Regions from separate parts of the Homo sapiens genome. Here all the other regions are linked to region 1. The links are contacts of gene promoters, found by promoter capture Hi-C in blood cells and fetal thymus (Javierre and others, 2016). All regions are on one chromosome and are shown on one strand. The core of a region is centred on a gene start or on the middle of the fragment in contact, and the rest is flanking DNA. Distances in the headings are between cores, read along the strand shown. Region 1 holds the start of SPATA6L (spermatogenesis associated 6 like). Region 2 overlaps JAK2 (Janus kinase 2). Region 3 has its middle 39 kb from the start of GLIS3. Region 4 has its middle 91 kb from the start of GLIS3.

Region 1 (2,958 bases), core at 1-2,500:
TCAAAATAAAATTAACAAATAATGGTGAATGAAGTGAGATGAAAACTTGCTTAATTTTTGCCTTGATGAGGAGGGAGACAGATTTATCACTTAGCTTCTCAAGAGTTCCTTCTTCCTGCACAATTTTTAGAGCTTAAAACTGGTATAGCACTACTAATAAGGTCTAGCCCTATTTGCTGTCAGCAAAGTGGGACAAATCCAGGAAATGTTGATCACCTTTCACACCCACATGTATGATGAAACCACACCATTTGCCAATTGTATGGAAGACAACCAGATTCCATGACAATTTCCTGTTAGCACTGTGCTTGTAATCATAGCCAGTAGAAAAGCCCCTAGAGGAAAAGCGGCATGATATTCTGTTACTAACTACATGGAAGGATTGGAAAATGGAAACTGAAATAAGAGGGAGTGACAGACCCCCAAGTAGAAACCATGGAGTCACTCTGCCACAGCACTTCACTTAGGAAGGATTTGGTAATTACGAAATAGTGATTGATTGATTTCCCTTTTGGAATTAGCAAGCCAGAGCTATCACTAAGGGGAAATATCATAGAAAATATCTGATTGGTTCATAGAGTTGGCAAATAATCAGGAAGTGATGGAGCTTTTTAAAATTATTCCCTGGTTATTTAAAGAAGTTGAAAATCCTTTCACAAATCTTTATCCAGGAGAAGAAAATAAATTCTACCTGGACTTAATGCAGGGTTGTTTGAAAAGAAATTAAAAATTCATGATAAAGATAAGAAACATGTTAGCTTTAGAACAGAAAAAAAAAAAAGTGGGAACAGGTGGAGCTGAATTAAAGGTTAGGAAGTCAGGGAAAACCAATATGGAGAAAAAGACAAAGGTGCGATCTGTCCCAGAAGATAATGATGTGTTTGTGGTAAGTGGGGGATGTGGGGGAGGGTTGTTGAAAACCACCTGAGACTATTTAGAGTCCGACTTGAGGTTAAGGAGGGGGAGTTCATCGATCTCTTACCGCCCGGATCTGCAGCTCCACCACCACCTCCAGAGGCATCGTTCCCTGCGTGGGCGAAAGGACTGGAATGAGAAGATCCTTTTGTGCCGAGCCTTGGACCAATTTTTCTTAGTTTAGCTGAATACCTAGAGCAAATGTTCCCAGAAGCTTCCCCAGTCCCACGCCCTTGTTCCCCTACCGTCCCCCCCAGCCCAGGTCCCTCCCACCGGGACGGGTCTCTCACACTCGAAGCTGGAGTGCAGGCTTCCAGAAGGCGGAAGCGTGGCGTTGCCAGGGACACTCAAACGCGCAGTCTTCATCGTGGAACGCGCGCGAGGCCCCAGCGCAGACGCGCGCCCTCACGGTCGCTGTTGCCCACGCAGTGCCCCCAGCCGGAGAGACTGGCCCTGTCTGGCGTGCTAGACGGATAGAGAAATGCTAACAATCCCGATCTTCTTTCCATCAGCTCCTGCTATCCCCAATTACCATGTCAGAATGTTTACCGTTTTCATTCTGAAAGTAGAATGAGATCATAGGTCTGTTATAATTTAAATAGTACACGTTTAGTAGCTGCACGACCCCAAGCCTTGTAGTTTCTGTAACAATTCTCATTTAATATAGTTGCCTGTTCCTAAAAATACTCTTTTGCTTATTAAATGTTATGTTTGCTTCGGAAAACATGGCCACCGTCAATAACAAACGTGTGCTAATTAGAAATATAAGGTTAATTCTTAAACATATTTAAAAGTTAGGTATCCCCTGTTAGCAGCAATAGAAATATGTCAGTCTTTCCATAACGGTGTCCAGCCTTTTCTGGGGTTTAGTTTAAGGCAAGCATTGAGTAGTCCAATGGGTAGTTATTGCATTTGCCAAAACCACAGTTACTGTAAACACTGTCAGAGGTGGTGCGCAGAGCAAGAGTTCTGAATGAGTAGGGGACATTCACTACATCTAATAGAGAAAAATGAAGGAAAGGAGCAGGTAGTGGCTCCTTCTAGCAATCCAAAAAATCTAGGAAGGCCAATGCTGCCTCTGAAAAAAAAATTTTAAATCCTAAATTATGTTCAGTCATTTATTACTAATATTTTGCATTAGAGAGTTATACAATTGGAAATAGTGCAGAAGGATGGTCAAGACAAGATTGGGTATTCATTTTGGTAACTGGAGTTTATTTCCCTGGAAGGGAAAAACTTGGTATGATGAAGAAGGGCATATTGTATCCTTATCCAGTTCCTAGTGCTGTGTCTCTCTGCATATCAAGAGATACAGGTGGGCACCTAACTATCTATAGTGTCCAGATCATTGATTTGTCACTCACAACTTGCTGACACCCAGAGTGATGTGGGACAGGACCTGTGATGATCCTAACAGGTAGGTCACCAACACCAATGCTAAGAAATCAAGGAGAGTGACAAGCAAAACAAATTAATAAATAGCCAGAGTTGTATTGGGAGAGAAGAATCAGTCTTTACTGAGGATCTGCAAAGTGCTAGGCACATTGCGTATGCTAATTCATCTCAACCCTACAATAACTCTATCAGGGAGATATTATCCCTATTTTACAGATGCAGAATCTGAAGCTAGACAGCCTTTTACTAAAAGCCACAGACCTAATAAGGGAGCAGCCACATTTGAATCCAGGTGTGCCCTACCACATCACTGGGTCTGCAATATAGACATCCTGTTGATCTCTAGAGACACAATGTTCCATTCTATGCTCTTCTTAGTCTTAACTCTTGATCTAACTGGACTCTCCTTGCTTGGCTGCTAGGGCACAGCTCTCTTCTGGTTTCCCTCCAACTTTCTGGCTATTCTTTCTTTGTCTGTTTATCCTCCTCTGGCTAAGCAATGTTTCTAGGTCCTTTCCTTTCCTCACTCTATACCCTTTACTTAGAGTGTCATCCATTGCAGACATTGATTAACACATGTATACAGATTTACATACCCCACCAAGACCTCTCTTCTGCTGACAAGGTGGAATCTCAATATCATATCTT
Region 2 (2,958 bases), core at 233-2,732, 320 kb after region 1:
ATTGTGCTGCCCCCTTGTGGTTAACTGTGCTAAGACCTTTCTTTTGCTCTTCTCCCATTACATTTCCCACCCTTCCCCACTCCCTTTTAGACCCCTCCTCTTAGCTCCCAGTTTCCCAAACTGTGTGCCAAGGTGCCCAGAGCACCTCAGGCTTGAACTTGTGTTTTGAGTTGGTTCATGGTTTCAATATTAGATACCTACACCCGTTTCTACAATGTCATGTCTTTGTAAAGATGTATTTTCAGAGGTTGCTCCGATAAAAAGCAACTACTACATGAAAATGAATGTAGAACAGGAAATGACAGTGTGGTATTGTCCAATTTGATTCTAAGGTTTGATAAGTTCTACAGTGCTCTACACTAAGTTGTAAGGACATAACTACTAAGTAAGTTGTTCAAACCTATTTCTTTTGGCCTGGGGGTGTCGTGAAAAATTTGCTAAGACTCAGAGCTCCCTGAATGGGTTTGGAAACCTCTGCCTTAGCTTTTAGTTTGCTTTTCTGATAAAATTATTGATATAAAGCTAGTACCAGCTGATCATGGCTTAATATATTTCCTCTCCTATGTAATATGTTTATAACTTCTGCCCAGTTCTTTCATTTTAAAACTAATCCTATTGCTAACTTGTTGTACTAGTCACTTCCTGGTTTTTCCTGTACTGGTCTTCTGCTTCTACTTCTGTTCATCTCCTTAAACTCCGAATGCCCCAAGTGAAAGTTACCATTTTCTACCCCTTAATTTTCTTCTAATCATGTAGGCTTTAAATTAGGCATCATCTTTAAACTACTTCTTTCATTTACCTCTTATTCCCATTCAAAATGTCCATATTTCCTTTCTTTCTCATATCTCTGCTTTCCCTCCTTTACTGTGTGAATCCCAGGACACATTTCCTGAGCCTAGAATATTGAAAGTCATTTGAACTTCTGAGAATTCAGTGTCCCTTCCTTCTGTTTATCCTCAATAGAGATTCCACTCTAATACTCCTTATTATAGCATTCCCTTGCCCCAAAACCTTCAGTGGCTTACCATTTTCTACTTATTAAATTTTCCTGACTTTTAAGATAGTCTATTATCAATCCCTGCCCTATTTATTTAGTCTTTTGTCTAAGGATCTCTAGTCCTTAAGCTTGTAAGCTGATTTCCACACTTTCTAATAATAAGCTATGCTTCTTCTATCCTTTAATTTTTGCCCATGTTCTCCATCCCTCTTTTTTTTCCTCTATTTCTGTAGCTCTTTAGTCTTAGAACATTTTCACATGGTTTAATTATATGCCATGCTTTAGTTGTTTGATAGTTATTTCCCTAGTGTTAGCCATATCTTTTCAAGTTGATTGTGTATTCTTTGAGGAGCAGTACCTTAGATTAAAAAAAAACCACAACACACAGTGGAGAGCACATGGGCAGCATTCAAGAAATACATGTTGATTGTGTGATAAGGAACTGTAGTCACCAAACAAATATTTGTTAATACTTGCAATGTAAAAGGTACTTGGCTGTATTCAAAAGAGAAATAAAGAAATATAAAATAGGCTCCTTTCCCTAAGGACTTACAGTATAATTGGGCAGATAAGCTAAATAATAAAAGTTACAGATATTTAAGACCACTTGAGTTGAGCAGAGATTTTGCATAATAGGAAGGAACTGGTAGAGGGGGTAAGCAAAGGCAAAATATGTATATATGTATGATATGTTCAGAGAGCAGTACATAAATAACTTGACTGAAATGAAGATTTGTGTGAAAGAGTAGTAAGAAATTGTGTTAAAAATGTAGTTGGAATTTGATTATGGATGTCTTTAAATGCTAGGATGAGAAGAATGTACTTTGACCTGTAGATATGGAGAAGCTTTAAAAGTTTTGAATTGAGAAAGAGTTTGCTGAAATAAGTATTTTAGGAAAATCAAAGCAGCACCAGTGCTAGGTCTCATATGAATTGGAAAGAGAATGGTAGAAAGAGGTAGGAAAATAATTGAGCCCTGAAGTAATGAGGACTTAGAAATAAGTCAGATTGCAGAGATGTCACAAGACATTATTATGGATTGGATAAGAAGGGAGAATGGAGGGGAGAAGAGTGATTAAAGATTACCTTACCTTGAAGGTTTGCTTTTCAGTGACGGAGGAAATCAAAGAGTGTTGACTCTCCAAGACATCTTAGAACATCTAAGTCTATATGTTTTGTATATTAGGACTCAGACCAGAGAGATTTAAAAATGTGTCCAAAGTTACTCAGCTAGTTAATGACAAAGAAACTGCCGTTTGATTAATGGCAGTTACTAACAAAAATAGTTATGGCAGTGTTAGTAGCTGGTAGAGGGGATGTAGACAGTTGAGCGTATATTGTGGATATGTTGAGTTTGCGGTGGCCGTGGGATGGGCAAGTGAAAATTGATAGCATACAGTGGGACATATGACTAGAATTTGTTAGCGAAGTTAAGGCTGGTGCTGTGGTACTTAAGAGAAAAGAGTGGGATTGCCCATAATTAGCGGGTGGGTGAAAGGAGAGGAATGGGTAAAGGAGACAAAGAAAAAAACAGTATGAGAGGCAAATTAGTGGATAGGTTAGGAGGCGGAATGATCAACATGTTGATCATTGGCAAGAAATGAGAAGAATCAGATCCAAAAAAAGGTCTTAAAAAGATGTATTCGTGTTTTTCCTAATAAGAAATCTATAAAAACAGAAGAAAATTGCTTATACTTTCCCTACGTGGAAATAACCACTGTTAATATTTTGTTCTCTCCGGTTTAACAAAAGACCTTTGGATTTGACAGTTGGGTGATCAGTGGAGACTTTTCCAAAGCTCTCCATCACTAGGACTAAGGATGAGAATTTTAGGCATAATAAAACCTAGGAGATATTTTTCAACAGATTGTCATTCGTCTGTATCGTCTTATATATCACACTGTCCAGGTACTATTCTTCCTGTGTGCATTGGTTCTGTGTTTTTTTCTGAATGATAGAAG
Region 3 (2,958 bases), core at 183-2,682, 330 kb before region 1:
TAACAAACAAAAAGCTTCAGGCTCCTTCCGGTCATTTTTTCTGACATGCTGAGTTGGACAAGGGCCTCAAGCATCACTGAAGTAAAAGAACATGGAGGATCCCTTTGGGCCAATATCTGACTCATTCTACCATATCACAAGGCCAGACAAAAGCTGATTAATGTTCATAATAATGATCACAATAGTAGCATAATAGTAGAGGTGGTAGCAACCAGTTTTGTTTACTCAGTACCAGGCTCCACTATCCATCTTTCAGATATGTTGTATCATTTAATCCTCACAAAACTCTATGAGGCAACTATTACCCCCATTTGAAAGATGAAGAAACTGGGGTTCAAAGAGATGAAAATATTTGCCCCAAACCACACAGCTTATGTGACCAAGCAGGAGCTAGGACCCAGATCTGATTTCCCAGGATGGTTTGCTCTTTCTCTAATGTCTAACTGGTAAGATTGGCAAGGCTGTGTGTGTGTGTGTGTGTGTGTGTGTGTGTGTGTGTGTTTAGTTTTGAAATGCAAAAACTGTATTTGTCCATAGCATGACTTCTTTTCACAGGAGTCAGGACACCTGATTCTAATCCTATCGCTTCTCCTGACTAGACAAGTTTCCTTGAACAAGGCATATCCCATTGAGATTTTGCTGCTGCTATGTGTTGGCAGTGTTGGACTAGATGAGTTTCCTTTAAGCTTAGCTTGTTAAAACACAGCTTTCAGGTCTTTCTGTAGACCTACTGAATGAGACTTTCTGGTAACAAAATTATACGTATATATAGAGAGATAGATGGATTTCTATTATATATGTGTGTACACACACACACACACACACATACACACACACACACACACACAATTTTTTAAACAAGCTCCCTGGATTATTCTTATTCAGGATGAGAATTCAGCTCAGGACTGGTATTTGGGAGTCACCATACTAGACAACCTATGAGGTACTGTTCATATCTACTAGTCAATGACTGTATAGGGCCCCAAACTTGAAGTCAAGATGTGGCTACCACTGAATTTCAAATAGGTCTGGAAGAATCTAAAGGGCATGTGACTTGTTCACAGGCATTGTTCTGCATGAAGTTTGGGGACAGACCCAGGGAGAAAAAGGAACTGGGGGAAAATAGTGTAAGTACTGGAGATTGGTTCCTGTAGCCAGCCCCATGGGAGAAGGAGCTGCAAGTAGAAAGTAGAGGAACCAAAAATATAGCCTCATATTGTATCACCTAAGGAGCCTGGAAAAAGCACTGTTGCTTGGGTCCCAGCTCCAGAGATCCTTATTTAATTGGTTTGGGGTATGTGCCTGAGTCTTGGGATTTTTTTTAAAGCTCCCCAAGTGATTCCATTTTGAAGCTAAGATTGAGATTCTGCATTAACACACAAGGACACAAAGCCTTCAAAATGAGACGGCTTTATGTGTTACAGGCTTACCCTTAAAACTATGTTGAAAAGCGGCATTTCAAGGACCCTCCTGGTGAGTTCATGAAGCAAAATAATCATGTTCAAAACAATTGAGACTGTCCATACAACACTACCTCGATATGTTTGGGAGGATAAACTCAACACCTCAGTCATGATTTAGTGGCTTGGCTTATATATTTGGTGGCATAGATAGAATTCTGTCCCCAGGTGTGTAAGTCACATGAAGCCAGTCCTCAATGACTGGATTTGTCTTCTTCACTGAAGTGAATTGATCTGTTGTTTTGTCACTATGTAGCTAAAGCCAGTGGGAGGGTGCCAGTTATTTGGAGAAAATGTTTCATTTTGAAGTACCAAAGACAGCCGATGAATTGTGTTCATGAAATACATGCTTCACTCTACTTTTTAATTTGCTCCTGTTTAAGTTAACTGAGAGTTTCGTCTTTATTTTTAAAGAATGACATTTATATAGACGTTCAAACTGCCAATCTGTTACATAAACAGCCTTGTTTTTTGAAGGGCTGGCGCCGCCTAGAGGCCAAATAGGTGCAGAGGTTTGGATTGCTAACCGGAAAGAACCTCTCCAACCTGTTGCTTCTGGTCCTTCTGTGATCCGTCTCTGTTGTGTGTATTTAGGGTCAGGTAAAGCTAATCAGACTTTTCATTGAGCAAAGTTTCCCAAGCAAGGGTGGAGATGCCACAGTGACATTTCAAAGCCAGATAACAATGCAATGATGGGATTTGGGAAGTTTGGTACAAAAGAAGCTTCTCACTGGGATCAAAACGTGCCCAGAGAACCAGAAACTGTAGGGGGAGGGAAGGGGGAGGGGAGGGGAGGGGGAGGGGGGAGGGGGAGGGGAGGGGAGGGGGTAGGGGAGGGGTGGGGGAGGGGAGGGGGAGGGAAAGGAAAGGAAAGGAAAAGAAAAGAGACAGAAAGGTAAAGCAAGTTTTTGGTGGGTAGTTTCCTAGAGTGAACTTAAGAGCAAACATTCTCTCATTTGGTATTGACCAAGACACAAAGACTAGGGAGAAGTCAACATTTAATACCAGCTGACAAGCGGCTTTGCTTCTTGCTCATCAGTGAATTCACCATGTCCTCACGGCTTGGCTTAGCATGAGGTTGATATTCCCCTAGAATCTCTGGATCTATTCCCTTTTTCTACAGCCTTCTCCATACTTTTAATATTTTCTTTCTTACATGGCCAACTTTTAATTACCACAGGGGAACAGAGTTAGTATGTATTTTTTAAATCTCTGAATAATCCAAAACGTCTGTACCCAGATAGAAGTTTAGGAATTACAAATCAAATGAGAAAAAAAAAAAAAAGTATGTCATTTTCCTTTATTTGCCATGACTGATGTCATCTGACTTTTGAGCTGAATAGAAGTGAGGGGGTGGGGGAAAACTTCAACTTCCCAATTAAAAGGCAACTCAATTCCAGGATGAAACATTCTTTTATTTTGTCTTACCCAGTGTCTTTGGGGCAAATTCCTCATCTTTCAGGATGCATCCTCCATCCCTGTTCTCCTTGCCCGGATG
Region 4 (2,958 bases), core at 243-2,742, 280 kb before region 1:
CTTCATCTAGGTTGCTAATTCATGAATATCTCTTCCCCTTCAAGGAAGTACTGGATTTCCCTCCTATACAATGTAGGGCGTGACATGACTTACAGCCCAGAACTCGTAGGTTGTGAGGGAAGGGGATTCATTTTGCCTGGATATCGCACAGTGCATAGAGCCACGTGGGACTTCCAAAGGCTGCTGGAACTAAAAAGCCCTTGTTGGTGAAATATGGTCCTGTAGAGTCTGCATTTCCAAAGGTTCTTGGATCTTGAACTAACTAAAAATTTAGAGTTCAATAGAAGAATCTAAATCAAAATAACCAGCTAAATATACTTCTTAGTCCTGGACACTGGAAGTATGCTAACTTCTGCCCAAGACAATCACATCACGTCAAGCCAGAAAGCCATATTACAAAAACACCTGCATTTGAGGAAAGACACACAGACGGCACCGCATACAGACATACAGGTGCCCAAGTGCAGTGAATAAGCAGATGTCCAAGAGGGAGTGAACAGTTCAGATCAATTCAACAATAATTTGTTGAACATTTGCTATATTTCAGGCACTCTTCTATTGGTTTATCCTGCCAGGCAGCAGTGCTCGACATCAAGAATCTGTGGCAGATACGTAAGAAGCAACACAGTGTGATAAGTAAAATGAGTGACACATATAGAACGTTCTAAGACAGTGGAGAAGGGAATTATTCACTCATTCTTTCTTTCATTCCATCAACACTTCCTGAACAAATACTATGTGCTGCAATGGGCTAAAACCCAGACTAATAAAAAATTTCTGGCAGAGGAGAAAAGAGAGACATTTGAGGTAGAGGGAACCACGGACATGTATAGATGCCTGAAAGATCATGACATGTTTGAAGATCTCTGAAACATTCCAAATTGTGGAGAATAAAGTTGGAGGGGGAAAGCAGCAGCCGCAGCTGAAGTATGCAATCACTTCTATGTATTGAGAGCAATCATTCATAATATGCATAGGGTGCAATACTTTGCACTATGTGCAGGAAAGAGCATAAGTAGACTTTGTGGCAGTCTAAACCCAGATATTGTTTTTATATATTACGTACTTGATAAAAGTCTTTTTTTTTTTTTAAACAGGGTCTTGCTCAGCCTCCCAAGCTGTAGTGCATTGGAGCATTCATATCTCATTGTACCCGCAAACTTCTAAGCTCAAGTGATACTCTTGCCTCTGCCTCCTGGATAGCTGAGACTATGGGCACACACCATCATGCCCAGTGGTACTTGATAAACTTCATAAACTGCAAGTAGGGTTTATACGCTTATACCCATGGGAGTGCCCAGTCTCTCTGGCCTCATACAGATATCTGTGGTGACCCTCTGAAGAGGGTGAAAAGTCAAGGGAGTTAGGAAATCACCTTTCTCTCAGGCTAGAAGATCCAGAGTTGGTGGTGGCTCTTCCCCACCCAGTAGTCCACTGTGGGACAGGACAGATACTCATCCTATACAATGGGGCTACCTCTCCTTATCCTAACTTTCTACCTTCCTTGGACTCCGCTGGGACAGGGTTTAGATCACTGTCTTTCTGAAAGATTCATGTATGACCCAAAGCAGTAGAGAGCTGGAGGCAGAAACAGGAATCGTACCTTTTTAAAAAAGTTAATGCCCTTTCTTATGTCTCAGAAGGGAAACAAGTTCTCCACATTGGGGCCTTTGAGAAAGTATCTCCACAAAGGCTTGCTTCCTGCCTATTTCTCTGTCTACTCATCCTCCTGTCTTCTCCTCTGTTTGGATGTCATTCCTCTCCATCTCACTCTCCCTTTCTATCTCTGCCCACCATCGCTGCCAGGATAGAAAGCCCTAGACCCAGCCACCTCTTCAGTCTGTAATATTCTGCTGCCTCTGGCTTTACCTGGAGGTCAGTGAGGCTTCCTCTGATCCCCCTTTCATAGATGCACTCATCTCTGGTGGAAGGGACAGTGGGGACATGGGGGGTACCTCACCTCCAGAAGAGCCTGCCTCCAGGTTTCCTTCAGAAATTCCTTAGAGACCATCTAATTTTTCTGTGAGAAAAGCAATTTCTTCCAAAGATTGCTTGTCTAGTCTATATAGGGGGTGTGTTCTCTTATTGGTATAGTTTTAACTCTACTTCTTTTGGATTAATAACAGTAGACTTTTTTTCTGAGCCTGTTTTCATTAAGGTTTTTCCCAATAACTGAAAAATCACTCTGCCTGTGTCACCTGGCACCAGGTTCAAGTAGTTTCTTCCTCATTGCTAGATTTATTCCATTCTAAGAGGGGTGTGTGTGTGTGTGTGTGTGTGTGTGTTGGGCTCGGGTAGGTTGAGATGGTCAGTTTATTCTACCAGATATGTAAATATTTAACCGAAATTTGGGGGAAAATTATATTTTAAAAATCTCGATTAAGAGCAGGAAATTCAGATAGAGGTTTGTACTGTCAATAGGGATTTGGTAAAGCACTTAGTACAATGAAACACACATCCAGTACCTGGTACTGTTAATATTCTTACAAATGTACATATTTTTGGGGAGGAATGTAAATTAGTTCAACCATTGTGGAAGACAATGTGGCGATTCCTCAAAGACCTAGAACCAGAAATACCATTTGGCCTAGCAATCCCATTACTGGGTATATACCCAAAGGAATATAAATCATTCTATTATGAAGATATATGCATGCGTATGTTCATTCCAGCACTATTCACAATAGCAAAGACATGGAATCAATGCAAATGCCCATCAGTGACAGACTGGATAAAGAAAATGTGGTACATTATACACCATGGAATACTATACAGCCCAAGGAATGAGATCATGTCCTTTGCAGGGACATGGATGAACCTGAAAGCAATTAGCTTCAGCAAACTAACACAGGAACAGAAAACCAACCAGCACAAGTTCTCACTCATCGCTGAACGATGAGAGCACATGGACACAGGGAGGGGAACAACACACACTAGGGCCTGTCGTGGGGCGGGGGT

Evidence for each region. The method cuts DNA at HindIII sites, captures the fragments that hold promoters and counts their contacts. A CHiCAGO score of 5 or more calls a contact.
Region 2: a contact is called between a fragment that was not itself captured here and the fragment with the promoter of SPATA6L in region 1, in 1 of 17 cell types (total B cells). The highest score is 5.0, in total B cells.
Region 3: a fragment that was not itself captured here is called in contact with the fragment with the promoter of SPATA6L in region 1 in 1 of 17 cell types (naive CD4 T cells); the score reaches 5.1 in naive CD4 T cells.
Region 4: a fragment that was not itself captured here is called in contact with the fragment with the promoter of SPATA6L in region 1 in 1 of 17 cell types (naive CD4 T cells); the score reaches 5.6 in naive CD4 T cells.

What each region holds. Positions count from the first base shown.
Region 1 is chr9:4,665,230-4,668,187 of GRCh38, forward strand. It overlaps SPATA6L (spermatogenesis associated 6 like), which reads right to left and starts at 1,251. Exons shown (of 12, transcript NM_001353486.2): 1 at 983-1,251. The coding sequence starts at 1,021. It overlaps PLPP6 (phospholipid phosphatase 6), which reads left to right. Exons shown (of 1, transcript NM_203453.5): 1 at 1-29. RefSeq lists silencers at 1,040-1,089, 1,100-1,179. The HindIII fragment of the contact is 11,868 bases long and covers 1,128-2,958 here.
Region 2 is chr9:4,988,087-4,991,044 of GRCh38, forward strand. All of the region lies in intron 2 of JAK2 (Janus kinase 2), which reads left to right. Among named protein-coding and RNA genes, the nearest start is that of JAK2, 4.3 kb to the left of the region's middle. The HindIII fragment of the contact is 718 bases long and covers 1,124-1,841 here.
Region 3 is chr9:4,337,563-4,340,520 of GRCh38, forward strand. It overlaps a transcript of GLIS3 not described here. Among named protein-coding and RNA genes, the nearest start is that of GLIS3, 39 kb to the left of the region's middle. RefSeq lists an enhancer at 1,827-2,121. The HindIII fragment of the contact is 1,497 bases long and covers 685-2,181 here.
Region 4 is chr9:4,389,294-4,392,251 of GRCh38, forward strand. It overlaps a transcript of GLIS3 not described here. Among named protein-coding and RNA genes, the nearest start is that of GLIS3, 91 kb to the left of the region's middle. The HindIII fragment of the contact is 7,468 bases long and covers 1-2,958 here.